2 separate regions of the Homo sapiens genome follow, and region 1 is linked to region 2. Evidence: promoter capture Hi-C in 16 types of primary human blood cells and fetal thymus (Javierre and others, 2016). All regions are on one chromosome and are shown on one strand. Each heading gives the region's core, a stretch centred on a gene start or on the middle of the fragment in contact. The rest is flanking DNA. Distances are from core to core; before and after follow the strand shown. Region 1 has its middle 49 kb from the start of CA13. Region 2 holds the start of E2F5 (E2F transcription factor 5).

Region 1 (6,744 bases), core at 2,608-5,107, 120 kb after region 2:
GCCTGGCCAACATGGTGAAACCCTGTCTCTACTAAAAATACAAAAATTAGCTGTGTGTAGTGGCGGACAGCTGTAATCCCAGCTACCTGGGAGGCTGAGGCAGGAGAATCGCTTGAACCGGGGAGGCGGAGGTTGCAGTGAGCCGTGATCGCGTCATTGCACTCCAGCCTGGGTGACAAGAGCCAAGACTCCTTCTCAAAAAAAAAAAAAACCACTACTTGTTAGGTTTTGGTGTAGTACTGAAGACAAATATACACAATTATCTGAAAAAGCTACTAACTTCCTCCTCCATTTTTCAAGCTACATATCTGTGTGTCTGGATTTCCTTCAAGCAGTTCAAACAAAACAGCCTATCACAGCAGATTGAATGCAGAAACAGCTGTAAAAATCCAGCTGTCTTCTATTTAGCCAGACATTAAGGGATTTATAAAAAATGTAAATATCTCTTTTTTTAATACCTTTTCTGGTAAAATATTATTTACACAAAATTTGTTATTTATGCTAATTTATTATTCATTATATGCATTTATTACCTTTAAATGAATTAATAAAGAAATACTTTAAATCTTCTGTTTAAATTTCCAATTCAGTAAATATCAACAGATATAATCCACATAAACAAAAGCTCTTTGAGATCTTCAGTAACTCTTAAGAGTGAAAAGGGTCCTGAGACCAGAAGGATTAAGAACTACTCCTGTGGCCAGTCACCGTGGCTCACGCCTTTAATCCCAGCACTTTGAGAGGCCAAGGCAGGTGGATCACTTGAGGTCAAGAGTTCGAGACCAGTCTGGCTAACATGGTGAAACCCCATCTCTACTAAAAATACAACAACAACAAAAATTAGCTGGGTGTGGTGGTACGTGCCTGTAATCCCAGCTACTTTTGAGGCTGAGATAGGATAATCGCTTGAACCTGGGAGCCAGAGGTTGCAGTGAGCCAAGATTGCGCCACTGCATTCCAGCCTGGGCGACAGAGCAAGACTCCATCTCAAAAAAAAAAAAAAAAAAAAAAGCACTCCTGTAAAGCAAGCCCCATGATTCAGTGTCCTACCACTTGTTCGTCCCAGCACTCCTTTCTTCTAAAGTAGTGATCAATTCTACTGAGCAAAGTGGCATATGCTGTAATAAAACCATATACACCTACACAAATATATTACCTAGATACCAAAAGGTAATAGTATTCACACTGTCTCACACTATTAGACACAGCACTCGTCACTCTATTCCAGGCACTCTAGGTTCCCTCTTCCTTTATGGCCTTTCCTCACTTTTACTGTTATCTCTTCCTTGCCACTTTACTTCCTCCCATCAAGTCCAAGGCCAAGGGATCTGTGTTAATTCCTGTTTAGATGCTAAAGGGACAATATAATTTTCATTGTGTTTGAGTTAATTCCTTGAATTCAAGTCTCAACAATTTACTGTATAGTCTCTTAAGGCCCTGGCCAAGCAGTTCCCTGGGTTCTATCCACAAAAATTCCCTATCTAGTTTTGTTCCTAGCAAACTGCCACCCCTCCTGTTCTAAGCATTCGGTTTTGAAAACCTGTCCCTAGTGCCTTCTATTTTCTTGTGTATTTCTGAATGATTCTGACCATGAACTTCAAGTTTCTTTGCCACGCTCTTTCCCAGTCTCAACTTTTACACGTATTGGCCTCCCACTTCTTCTCATGCCTTCTCTTCTACCTGTAGGCATTTACATTTCCAAGGCCCTACCTTGCAGTTCTTCCCTCTTCTCTTGGAAAAGAGCAGTAATCTATCTTGACAGATTTGTTACACTTTAGGTTGTTTTTGTTTGTTTGTTTGTTTTTGCTGGATTATAGCACTGCAATAGGCATATGTGGCCAGGAGTAGACCAGATGGCTATTTCCCTAGGGAGTCTCAGGAGTTTGATGAAGTCCTCTAGGTATAGAGTCAAACTCTCAGCTCTGCAAAATCAGAAACATAATTTGTCAGCACGATGTCCCTTTCTCATGGGCAGACTTACCATAAGTGAGTTCACAAGTCTGAAATATAAGTTAAAAAGTCAAGTTATTAATTTATAATGAGTGATATGAGTCTTACATTAGCTGGAACACTAATCAAACATGAACGTTCATTCAAAGAATATTTCTTGAGCACCACTAGGAAGTCCACTCTATACAGGAAACCAAATTATATAAGATGTTTACTTGGTGAGTATGGATCTCAGAAAAATACGACAAATAGGAGAAAGAAATTGTCTGAAACATCCGACTCGTCTAAAGAATCATTTTCAAAGTGGGACATAATAATAGAATTTTGTTGGCTGTACTTCCCAGCATTTTCTTCAAAATATGTATAGTTTTGCCAAAAGGACTAAAATACTTGGCCTGTTGACTAATGTTTTCTTAAACACTGGAATATATTTGGATAAACTAGCAATATGTGCTTCTGTGGTTTTCAGTTTTCTATTCTGTGATAAATCCACCATTTCCCTAGTTGGCACTTCCTTATATTGGACATGTTAACACATGCACTCAAGTAAGATTTTCAAATCTGAAGCCACTCTGCCCTTTAAGGAGTGTGTTTATATTTTGGTTCTTATTCATAAGGTATATATTGCAAAGTCCAACTCTGAGAGAGCAAACATGTAATATAAAATTTTAAGCTCATTTTACTTATTCTCAAGTTCTTGTGGGAAAGTCTCAGTATAGCCCCCAAGGACTACACAATGATATTTGTTTTTTTGTATGTGTGTGTGACGGAGTCTCGTTCTGTCACCCAGGCTGGAGTGCAGTGGCGCGATCTCGGCTCACTGCAAGCTCTGCCTCCCAGGTTCAGGCCATTCTCCTGCCTCAGCCTCCTGAGTAGCTGGGACTATAGGTGCCCACCACCACGCCTGGCTAATTTTTTTGTATTTTTAGTAGAGACAGGGTTTCACCATGTTAGCCAGGAAGGTCTCGATCTCCTGACCTCGTGATCTGCCCACCTCGGCCTCCCAAAGTGCTGGGATTACAGGCATGAGCCACCGCACCCAGCCACAATGATATTGTTTAAAACTACTTATTGAATATATAAAAAGAAAACAAAGTGTTGTAATTAAAGATGATGAGACAGCATAGCCCCCAAAACTCAATATAATCTGTTTATTTCATCTGGTTTTATTTTCATAGGAATTTTCTTCTAGGAAACCTGTGTTAGCATTTGATACAGGTAGATGCAGTGTTTTCTCAACCAGCTAGGATGAAAAGCAAGAAGAGAAATACAGGGATGCAGACAGAAGGCACTGACTGAGATAAATATAAGTAAGACTAATCATAGTTTTGTGACTAAGTAGAGGTTTTACAGGTATAATGACTTTTAAAGACAATTTTCAGGGTTATTGTATAATAAAAATCTTTGGGATCCATGAAACTCCGGCAGCCCTGGTCCCAAGGGGCCACCCAAATGTTGTGTATCTAGCAGTGCCTCTTTCTCTTGGCATAAAGACTATGCTGTGCTGGGTTATTCCATCTGTCACTCAGACATCCTGAGATCAAATAAAACAACAATTCCTACACCCTCATCTATTTCCTTCTCTTATTTCCTGTATAGTGGATATACTTTCTGTGTTTTTCCTCTTAGAAATTGGAGCCTGGATAAATACAAGCTTGAAATCCTCCTTCCCCAAATAATGAAAGGTTCTGTTGTGCTTTGCAGCCATCCAGAAGCATGCTTTCAGCTGAGCTTGCTCACTCATCACAAGAATTTGAAATTTCAGCTCCAAATATTCTTTTATGTAAATGACTTTATTAAGAAAAAGCAAATCCAAATCTGGCTTCTCAACCAAGAAGAATAAGAGAGCTCTGTTTGTTTTATTTGTTATGAGAACACACTTCATTTGTATTCAAGCAAAGACTTTTTGTCATATATAATGAAAGTGTATGCTTGTTAAAAATCAGTAAGATTGAAAAGGCTAGGAGGACATATTCCATTTTAACCTTTTTTTAAGATAAAGATCTCAGCTATATCTATTTCAGTATGCTTGAATGAGTCTCTGTAGACAGTTCATATTTCTTGTGAATGTGTCAGCTTATCATTAGGTCAGGTAGCATCTTTCAAATGACTTGGTGAAACTTAATTACATACTCTTGTTCTGTAATAATTTCATGTAGGTAAGCTTACATATGAAACACTTTGTAACTAAGTTGTAAATCAAAACCAAAATTTATCTATGCTTTTTCACCCTTGCCCACTTCCATTCCTCTTCAGTGCTTGACAGGGAATCAGAGAAATAGTGAATGCCTAATCCTGAATTTAATTATTTACCAGACATGGGTATATGTCGTGTTTCTGTCTCTTCACTTGCCTTCTGAGGTGAATGTCCTGGTTTCCTCCCTCCTCACCAGCTGTCCCTTTCTGGTCTGTTCTCTCTCTGCTTCACTTACTTCCTGGGTAATTTTTTTTTCTAGCCCCATGACTTTAAATGACATTTAAAAACATGGTTGATGTATACATATATATATACACGTGTGTGTGTGTGTATATATATATCATATATATGTGTATATATATATTCAGATGTATATACTATATATCATATATATGTATATATATTCAAATATATATACTATATATATGTGTGTGTGTATATCAGCATATATCAGATATATATATCCATTCCCAATCTTTCCCCTGAACTTGGAACTCATATACCCAACTGCCTATAAGACTGCTCCATGGAATGTCTGACAGACATGTCAACATTAGCATGTCCAGATCCCTCAATTCTGCTTCCCATCCCCTTGTTGTGCCTGCAACCTTCCCTTCCCAAGGATGCTCCATCTCAGTAAATGGCACCACTAGCTACACAAAACTCACAGTCATCTCTGTACTCTCTTTCGCTCACACCCAGATTGAATCTGCTAGCAAGTCCTGTGGATGCTAGTCTTAAAATATGGCTCTCAGCTGGTCTCTCTGCTCCACTCTTTACCCCCTACATTGTTCACACAGCGGCCAGGGTGATTCTTTGAAAAAGCAGGTCAGAGTGCTTCACTCCATTTGAGCTCCACACTGCAGTGACTTCCTATGACTCAGAACAAAATCTGCTGTGCCTATGATGGCATATAGAGTACTCTGTGATCTGTGCTCTTGTGGCTCCTGCCCCCCTTCTCTCCTGCTGTCCCATCCACCACTCTTCAGTCTTGACACCCTCGTTTTTCCTCTGCCAGGCCTTTTCAAGTCTTTACAGTGGATATTCTCTTTGCCTGCAATGCTCTTCCTCAGATACTCATATGAATCACTTCCTCATTCATTCAAATGTCACCTCTTCAAAGAGGCCTTCCCTGACCACACTTTCTAAGTAGCAGCCCTGTTACTTTCTTTCCCCTTACTCTGATTTATTATTTTTCATGTCATTTACAACATCATTAACATAATATTATTTATTTTTAAACATCAGTCTGTCTTACAAGAATGTAACCTCCTTAAGGAAGTGTTTTTCATTTTGTTAATCAAGAGTTTTTAGCACCTAAACCATGTTTGACTCATGATAGACATCAATAGGTGTTTATTTAATTAACCAATGCATATTTTTTCATGCACATTTGAACTAACGTATACATTGACAATATAATCCTTAATTTTCTGGATAAGTTGTGTGCATCTATAGAAGACTGGGTGTAAATCTACAATTATATGTCAGCTTTTATGTTATATTGAGTTCATGGGTGTTCCTTAAAAAATGCTTAAAAGATATTGCAGTTTTTAAGACGTTAATGCACCTATGCACATGCATATATTCACAAACTGTTTTCAGTAGTACTTTGAAATCCTCCTAAAAGTTTTCATGCAATGTTCAACAATATAAATCTTACTTTCAAGTAGCTGATTCATAGTGAAGATCGTTACTCACAATATGATAGATGCCATATTTCCCAGTACTCAGGTAGTCTCTTCATTACGGGCACCTTGTCTTCCAGAACAACACGCTAGGGTGAGAAACAGAGAAAGGGAGTGAGGGAGAGGATGGAGAGAATAAAATAAAATGTTCTTGCAGTAACTGGTCAGTACTTGAAAGGGAGAATATGCAGTAAAGGAGAAGGAGTATTTAACAGGAATTAAAGAAGCCTTAAGAGAAAACAATTATGTGAGCATTCATCTCCCTAAAAAAGGAAAAAGGAAGGTGCAGAGACAGCAGTGACTTGTTCCTCATCTTAACCACCAGGTGGTGGTGTCGCATCAGAAAGGCTGATTTGCACTACCTGGTAGCGGATGAGGCAATGAGGCACCATGACCATTACTTTACTCCCACCTGCTAGTGCAAGATTTCAGCCTCTTCCGAAGTCTCCCTCTCCTAACTATTTCTAAATATTCCCAAAGAGTGTCTCATTTGTGGTAATGAGTGAGTCAAGTCAGTTTGCACTTGGTGTCTCATAATTTCTTCTCTTTTGTCCTCACCTCCCTCTCTCCTCCTCCTACCTTCCAGGTGCATCACTTGGCCACCATTCCCTGTGGGAGCAGCTCTGCCACCTGCTCTGGGCATTGTTAATCCTCTGGGTCCCAAACTGAATCCACTGGGCCTTGCTTTTGCTGCTGCTAGGGAAGAGAAGGCAGAGAAGTATTCATTAACAGTAAACATTAGTTGTGCTCAGCCCTCTGCAGTCTACCTCTGCTAGGCATAAAATAAGGAGAAGTGGCCTCGGGTGAAAGCAGGTTTGGATTAAAATTTCCTAATGCCAAGGCTGCTTGAACGTTGGATTACTCTTCACCTATACTTCTATAAATGTGTAATCTTGTTATAAGTTTTCC
Region 2 (7,428 bases), core at 2,977-5,476:
CATGGCAATATGCTCGCTAATTTTTCGTATGTTTAGTAGAGACAGGGTTTCACCATGTTGGCCAGGCTGGTCTCGAACTCCTGACCTCAGGTGATCCACCCACCTTGACCTCTCAAAGTGCTGGGGTTACAGGTGTGAGCCACCGTGCCTGGCCTGTATGTTGCAAGGTTTTGAAAGGAAAAATGGAAAACTGTATTTTATTTTCATTAACTTAGATTACAAGAAGAAGGTATTAGGGTTGATGTAGCAGTCTTTTGATGGAGATTTGTTAGCTCAAAGGGCATCTGAGAGTCTAAAGTTCCAACCATTCATGATCACCGAATGGGCTAATGCACTTAAAAAATCAGTCTGCATGGCCAGGTATGGTGGCTCATGCCTGTAATCCCAACACTTTGGCAGACCAGGGTGGGTGGATCACCTGAGGTCAGGAGTTCAAAACCAGCCTGACCAAAATGGCGAAACCCTGCCTCTACTAAAAAAACAAAATTAGCTGGGCATGGTGGTGCATGCCTGTAATCCCAGCTACTAGGGAGGCTAAGGCAGGAGAATCTCTTGAACCTGGGAAGCAGAGGTTGCAGTGAGCTGAGATCATGCCATTGCACTCCAGCCTGGGCAACAAGAGCAAAACTCCATCTCAAAAAAAAAAAAAAAAGTCAGTCTGTCATCATCAATAAACAAGTAAAATTTTGTTGGATTTTCTTAAATATTTAACTACCAGATTATGACAAAACTGTGCATATTTTAAATTGATCCTGAATCTCTATAAAAATGGCATTTGTGAAATTCCACAAATGTTAGATACTATAAGTTTAATGAGCTGTGGACTAAGAAATCATTCTGTTTTGAAATATTTAAGCCTTCCTTCTTAGTCCTGAACTAGCTAAGGAGCTGCACTTCCAAAATGCATTTAAAAAAAGAAAATTTAACCAGGGGCATATAAACAATATTATAATTGAAAATAGTATCTACCCAACTAATCAGCGTAAATTGAATTTAATGAAGGATTACTGTTATGCATTTATTACCCTTATAGGTCAATGAAATATAGTTTAGTTCAATTGGATTTTTTTTTTTTTTTTTTTTTTTAGGATAGATTCTCACTCTGTCACTCAGGCTGGATTGCAGTGGCAGGATGACAGGTCACTACATCCTTGACCTCTTGGGCTCAAGTGATCCTCTCACCTCAGCCTCTCTAGTGGCTGGGACTACAAGTGTGCACTACCACGCCCAGCTAATTTTTGTAGTTTTTGTAGAAATGGGGTTTTGCCATGTTGTCCAGGCTGGTCCTGAGTTCCTGGGTTCAGGCAATCCTCTTCTCTCAGCCCTCCAAAGTGCTAGGATTACAGACAGGCGTGAGTGCCCAGCCAGGCGTGAGCACTCAGCCAGCTTTGACTTTTGTTGGAAATAATTTTTAAGCCTTTGTCAGAAATGGCACAAAGAACTGATGTAGGAATTTACAGCCTTTTGAGAGTTATCTCCTTTATAGTCAAAAGGATACAGAAATAAAAGTTAAATTACAAAACTGATCAATATCATGTTCTTAAACATTATTTGTATCATAACTTTTAAAAAATCATGTTTCTTAGTTTTTTTAAAAAATAGAATTTTTAAAAACATTTAGCAATATTTAAAAAACTTTTGCATTATCAATCTCTGTTTTTTGTCGATTTTTAGGAAAAATATATATTGCATTATTTTTCATTGTGCTATTTGGCGTTTCTCAAAGAATGACTATGTTGTGCATGAGAATTATCTGAACTGTGAAAAATGTGGACTCACAGGTCATATTCTCATATCAAATGCTAATTTGATCCCTGGGGTTTGGATCCAAGCATCTAGATTTTTAACAAACATTGTAGATGATTTTTTCCCCTAAGGTCTGGGAACCACTGGTATAAGCGATTTTTAGCTCTTCAGACAGACATAAGATTTTGAATGCTAATTAAAATGGCTGCTAATTTGTGAATAATTTCTAATTGAACCCCAGGCAATCTAAAGAGATAAAAAATTCATTGTGAAAAACACAAATAACAGTGCAAAATAAATTGTTAATTGACCTTTTAGAATCACTAATAATATAATTGCTTTGTAGAAAACCTTTTAAAGCTGAAATTTAAAAAATATTGTTTTTAAAAATTACCAAGATAGCTACTATAAAATATGATTACATGCCATGGGATGAACTATATCTCCCCAACATTTGTATGTTGAAACCCTAACCCTCGGGCCTTTGGGAGGTGATTAGGTTTAGATGAAATCGTGAAGATTGAGCCCTCAGATGGAATTAGTGCCCTTATAAGAAATCTGAGAGCTTATGCTGTCTCTGTTCTGTCTGTCTTTCTCTCTCTCTCTGCCATTTGACACAATGAGAAAGCCACAATCTGACAGCCAAGAAGGGGGCCCTCACCACAACCTGGCCATGGCAGCCTCCTGATCGTCGACTTGCAGCCTCCAGAACTGTGAGAAAATTAATTTCCGTTAAGTCACCCAGTTTATGGTACTTTCTCAAACTAAGACACCATAGAAGTGTAAGTTTTAAAAATATTAATACATTTAGTGTTATTAATTCCTGTCCCTGCACATATAACACAATGTTCTGTTATAAAGTTAAAAACAAATTAGAATCTTCCTAATTCAGTATGTTCTAAGAAATACTACTTGACAATAATCAATAAAATAAATTTGCAAAACTTGTCAATGATGTGTCCCATGTCAAATCAAATAAAGATAGCCTTTCTTGGATAGGTTGTTGGAAAATGGTTGTATCAACTGAATTTTTCATGTTTTACTTCAGATTTTCAATTTTAAGTTTTGTTTATAGATTTGATTAAAATAAAGGTTATTATGAATAGGTTATTAATAAAGGTTATAAAGTTCTGTGCCTATGATGTGTTATAAATGGTGTGTTCAGCTTTACTAGTTAATGCTGTTGTATTTGATGTCGCTTCAGTGACCTTTTTTGTTAGTTTATTGTTACTTAAAATTAAGCAAAATCTTTCTTGCATGAAATCTTCTTGATTAATTATTGCCATATAGAATTTTCATTCACCTAATCTTTTTTTTTTTTATTTGAGACAGAGTCTTGCTTTGTTGCCCAGGCTGAAGTGCAGTGGTGGCATCTCGGCTCACTGCAACACTGCAACGTCTGCCTCCTGGGTTTAAGAGATTCTCCTGCCTCAGGCTCTGGAGTAGCTGGGACTATAGGCGGGCACCACCACCCCCCGCTAATTTTTGTATTTTTAGTAGAGACGGGGTTTTACCATGTTGGCCAGGTTGGTCTCGAACTCCTGATCTCAAATGATCTGCCTGCCTCGGCCTCCCAAAGTGCTGGGATTACAGGCGTAAGCCACCGCGCCTGGTCTCATTCGCCTAATCTTTATTGTCTACTATATTCAAAGTGTTGAGTGTGACAACAAGTCATTTAAAATTTAGTCTGGATTCTCAAGAGTTTGTAATATAATGAGGAAAAAATCCCAACGACTTTCTTTTACTCAGATCTCCATAATGTCATTTGCCATCAATAGTTTGGAATATCACTGAAGTCCAAGGGCCTGTGGCTACCCAATATTCCAAATACAATATAATTTGGTTCAAATAAGATATTAAGAACTTTGGTCAAGAACTTTGGTCAAACACAGGAGATCTGGAATCTAACGGCATGTCTTTGGCAATTCACAACCTCTCCCTCTACACGTTTCTCCATGTAGAAAGTAAAGGCCTTGGAAAGGATTGATGAAAACCAACCCTAAAACTCCACGATGCCTTTTTCTGTACTCCGAATCTAAAAGGGTGAGCTATGAAGTAAAACTCTGCACTTGGTCCAAGTCATTGAAATATTTGCAAACGATGCTAGAGCTCGAAAAGAGCAAAGATAGCAGAAACCGTCCAGAGAAAGTAACCTACTGCTGAAGCTCTGCAAACTTGAGCAGTCAACCAACTTCACCGCTCACAAACGTTTGGCCGCTAGGCATTGTGACTTTCTGCCCAGATAAAAGTCTTTTTTTCTTTTGTCTCCTTTTTTTCTTCCTCCCTGCTTTGCCGCGTGAGATTACCACTCCTCGGGTCAGCTCGCGAACGCCAGGGAGGCGAGTGTGAAACACACGCGCCAACACCCCTCCTCCTCCTCGTGCGCTCCTCCTTCCTACAGAAAAATGTGTTTCTAGGCAACGGCGGGCGGCGGCGTCACTTCCTGCCATTTAAACTCAGGTCCCCACCCCTCGCAGCCCCTTCTCCTCGTTTCCACCCCTCCCCCCTCGGTCGTGGGCCTCATTCACGCTTCCCCGGGCTTGGGGAGGGGGCGGAGGCCCGGCGTGACAAGCGGCCCAGACTCCCGTGGGCGCCGCACACCTGTTGTTTGCAGCAGCCAGCGACCCGCACTACCGCTCTCGGCGGGCGGGGAAGCGGCCGCAGCGGAGCCGACCCGGCAGGTGGCCGCGGGCGGGGCCGGCGAGCGAAAGTGCGCGGGGGCCCGACCACCGCGGGGCCGGGACGCGATGGCGGCGGCAGAGCCCGCGAGCTCGGGCCAGCAGGCGCCGGCAGGGCAGGGGCAGGGCCAGCGGCCGCCGCCGCAGCCTCCGCAGGCGCAAGCCCCGCAGCCGCCCCCGCCGCCGCAGCTCGGGGGCGCCGGGGGCGGCAGCAGCAGGCACGAGAAGAGCCTGGGGCTGCTCACTACCAAGTTCGTGTCGCTGCTGCAGGAGGCCAAGGACGGCGTTCTGGATCTCAAAGCGGTGAGCTCCGGAGGCGGGGACGGGGGCGGACTTCGGAACCCGTGGCCCCCGGGGAAGCCCAGCCCCTCGCCGCGTGGGTCTAGCGGCGTGGTGTAGACGCGCCTTGCGGGGACCCGGGACCGGGCAATCCGAGGACCATGTGGCCTGCGCCCGGGTCGTGGACGCCGGGATGGGGGAGGGACGAGGGACCAGGATGGCACCGAGCGGACGCGTAACCAATGGGGCCCGGCGCCACGCTGGGCTCTCGACAAAGAGCCCAGGACCTCGAGCGCGCCCGCGTGGCTTCTGTCTCCGGGCGCAGGGACCTGAGGGTAACCGAGTGTCTGTTGCTCTGCGTCCACCTGTGGCAGAGGCTCACGGGGTAACGGGCGCTTTGCCCGGAGACACCGTGGATATCGATTTTGCTGTTAAGAATGGATGGTTTTAATAGGCGATTCCAGTTGGAACCATGTTCCTGTAGTTTAAATAAAAAGGAGGAAAAACAAAACCCAGTCTGCCATCTCTACCAGATGAAAGAAAAAAAAAAAAGAGTACTTCTTTCCACGCCCCTCCCCGATAAAATAGTATTAAATCTTCCTTGTGCACTTCTTTCATCACCCTGATAGTTAGGAGGGGTATTTGATTTGTGACTTCATTTGGCATGTGTCATGGGTTTCCAAAAGTGAGATCTGCTGTCACACGAAAAGGGGATATTTTACAACTTTCACCCAAAGAGGTGGAAGTGCTCAGTAAACTCTCTCCCTGCGTCGTCCTTTACAGCGTTCAGATTTTTCAAACAGGAGCAGGCATCAAAAGCTGTTCTGTCATACAGAATGACTTAACCGATCTAGGAAGGATTTGGAAGAATTCAACAGCGCTCAGGATAATGAGAATGTGGTCACTCCGCGCGAAGTTTAAGAACTAAAGTTTTAGAAACAAACAAACAAAAAACACTAACTGCCCAATAATCACTGCAAATCCCCTTTGACTCCCTAAATGTGGCCTTACTTGGAGGATTGGCCCCAGCTCCCAGGGGAGTGCCTGGACCACCTTACCTGGCTTGAGAGTGTCACTGCATCCTCAAGGCTCTGCATAAAGCAGTGGCAGCTCCCTGAATGTAAGGACCAAGACTTGCAGGGGCCAACTCTTCTGCTAGAGGCCCTCCTCCAGTGTAGCCCAAGGGGAAGTAGATCTTTTCAGTGCCCTCTCCTTTCCCTGGATGTAGTTGGTGTTCAATCAGTGATTGTTGAACTGAATTACCTAAATTGTTCAACTTCATACAACTGAGGCATGCTGCACATATTTTGCATTTTGGTAAGTAATTTCTACTATTTTCTTTTTGATATGTTATTCCTGGAATTTTTTTCCCACCTCTGGAAATTCCTTGTTCTCTTTTTTCCACCACAGCCCCTTCTTCCTTTCTCTCCCTGAAAGTGATTTATGGCATGTGTAGTATTTAAATTGTAGTGAATTAAAATGGATTCTGTTTAAAGAATTTCACAGGAAGTCATGAAGTTATCAGAGAAAGCCAGGAATGTTACAAAGCACAGGTGGCAAACTGCTGTTCAAAATCTAGAAATTCAGCTGTAGCCTGTGACTTTGGTGTAAGAAAATCAGGGAAGTTTGGGGTTTTCCAGGTAAAACTGAACTCTGACGGCTGGACTTTGAGGGCTTCTCCCTCAGCTTGCCTCAGGATATGGTGGAACTTTGCCCTTTCTTGACTTGAAATTCTTTAGCTTCCTCCTGTTTCATCTGTGGCTATATAATTGCCCTACAGAAGTCACAGAGGCAGTGAGTAGGATGTAAAGTTTGGTATTTCATGACAATAATTGCTTTATTCATTCTGGAACTCTCCTAAAAATTCAAAGGTTTCTACAATAACACTGTCTCATTATATTAATGACTTCATACTCCTAGAAAAGAGTTTGAATGTCTTTAGTTTTCATATATATGTATGAAAAACATATGTTTTATGTATTTTACGTATATTTTTCATTTATTTATATATACTTATATATGTAAAAATCTTTTTTTTTTCTTTTTTGAGACGGAGTCTTGCTCTGTCGCCCAGGCTGGAGTGCAGTGGCGCGATCTGGGCTCACTGCAAGCTCCGCCTCCCGGGTTCACGCCATTCTCCTGTGTCAGCCTCCCGAGTAGCTCGGACTACAGGCGCCCGCCAGCGCACCCAGCTAATTTTTTTGTAATTTTAGTAGAGACAGGGTTTCACTGTGTTAGCTAGGATGGTCTCGATCTCCTGACCTTGTGATCCACGCGCCTCGGCCTCCCAAAGTGCTGGGATTACAGGCGTGAGCCACCGCGCCCGGCCAAAAATCTTACATTGAAATCTTTCCAATGATATTTCTTATTATACACCATAGTAAAAGATCGTTAAAGCCTTTTTTTTTTGAGACTGAGTCTTGCTCTGTCACCCAGGCTGGAGTGCAGTGGCAGATCTCTGCTCACTGCAACCTCCACCTCCCGGGTTCAAGCGATTCTCCTGCCTCAGCCTCCCAAGTAGCTGGGATTACAGGTGCCCGCCACCATGCCCGACTCATTTTTGTATGTTTAGTAGAGAAGGGGTTTCACCATGTTGGCCAGGCTGGTCTCGAACTCCCAACCTCAAATGATCTGCTTGCCTCAGCCTCCCAGAGTGCTGGGATTACAGGCGTGAGCCACCATACCCAGCCCATTAAGACATGTTTGATAATACATATTAAAGATG

Evidence for each region. The method cuts DNA at HindIII sites, captures the fragments that hold promoters and counts their contacts. A CHiCAGO score of 5 or more calls a contact.
Region 1: a fragment that was not itself captured here is called in contact with the fragment with the promoter of E2F5 in region 2 in 3 of 17 cell types (naive B cells, total B cells and fetal thymus); the score reaches 8.0 in naive B cells.

What each region holds. Positions count from the first base shown.
Region 1 is chr8:85,291,412-85,298,155 of GRCh38, forward strand. No RefSeq gene overlaps it. Among named protein-coding and RNA genes, the nearest start is that of CA13, 49 kb to the left of the region's middle. The HindIII fragment of the contact is 510 bases long and covers 3,603-4,112 here.
Region 2 is chr8:85,172,928-85,180,355 of GRCh38, forward strand. It overlaps E2F5 (E2F transcription factor 5), which reads left to right and starts at 4,227. Exons shown (of 8, transcript NM_001951.4): 1 at 4,227-4,727. The coding sequence starts at 4,494. E2F5-DT (E2F5 divergent transcript) reads right to left here and starts at 4,114. Exons shown (of 3, transcript NR_134311.1): 1 at 3,904-4,114. RefSeq lists an enhancer at 3,888-4,057 and silencers at 4,158-4,687, 4,698-5,087. The HindIII fragment of the contact is 15,711 bases long and covers 1-7,428 here.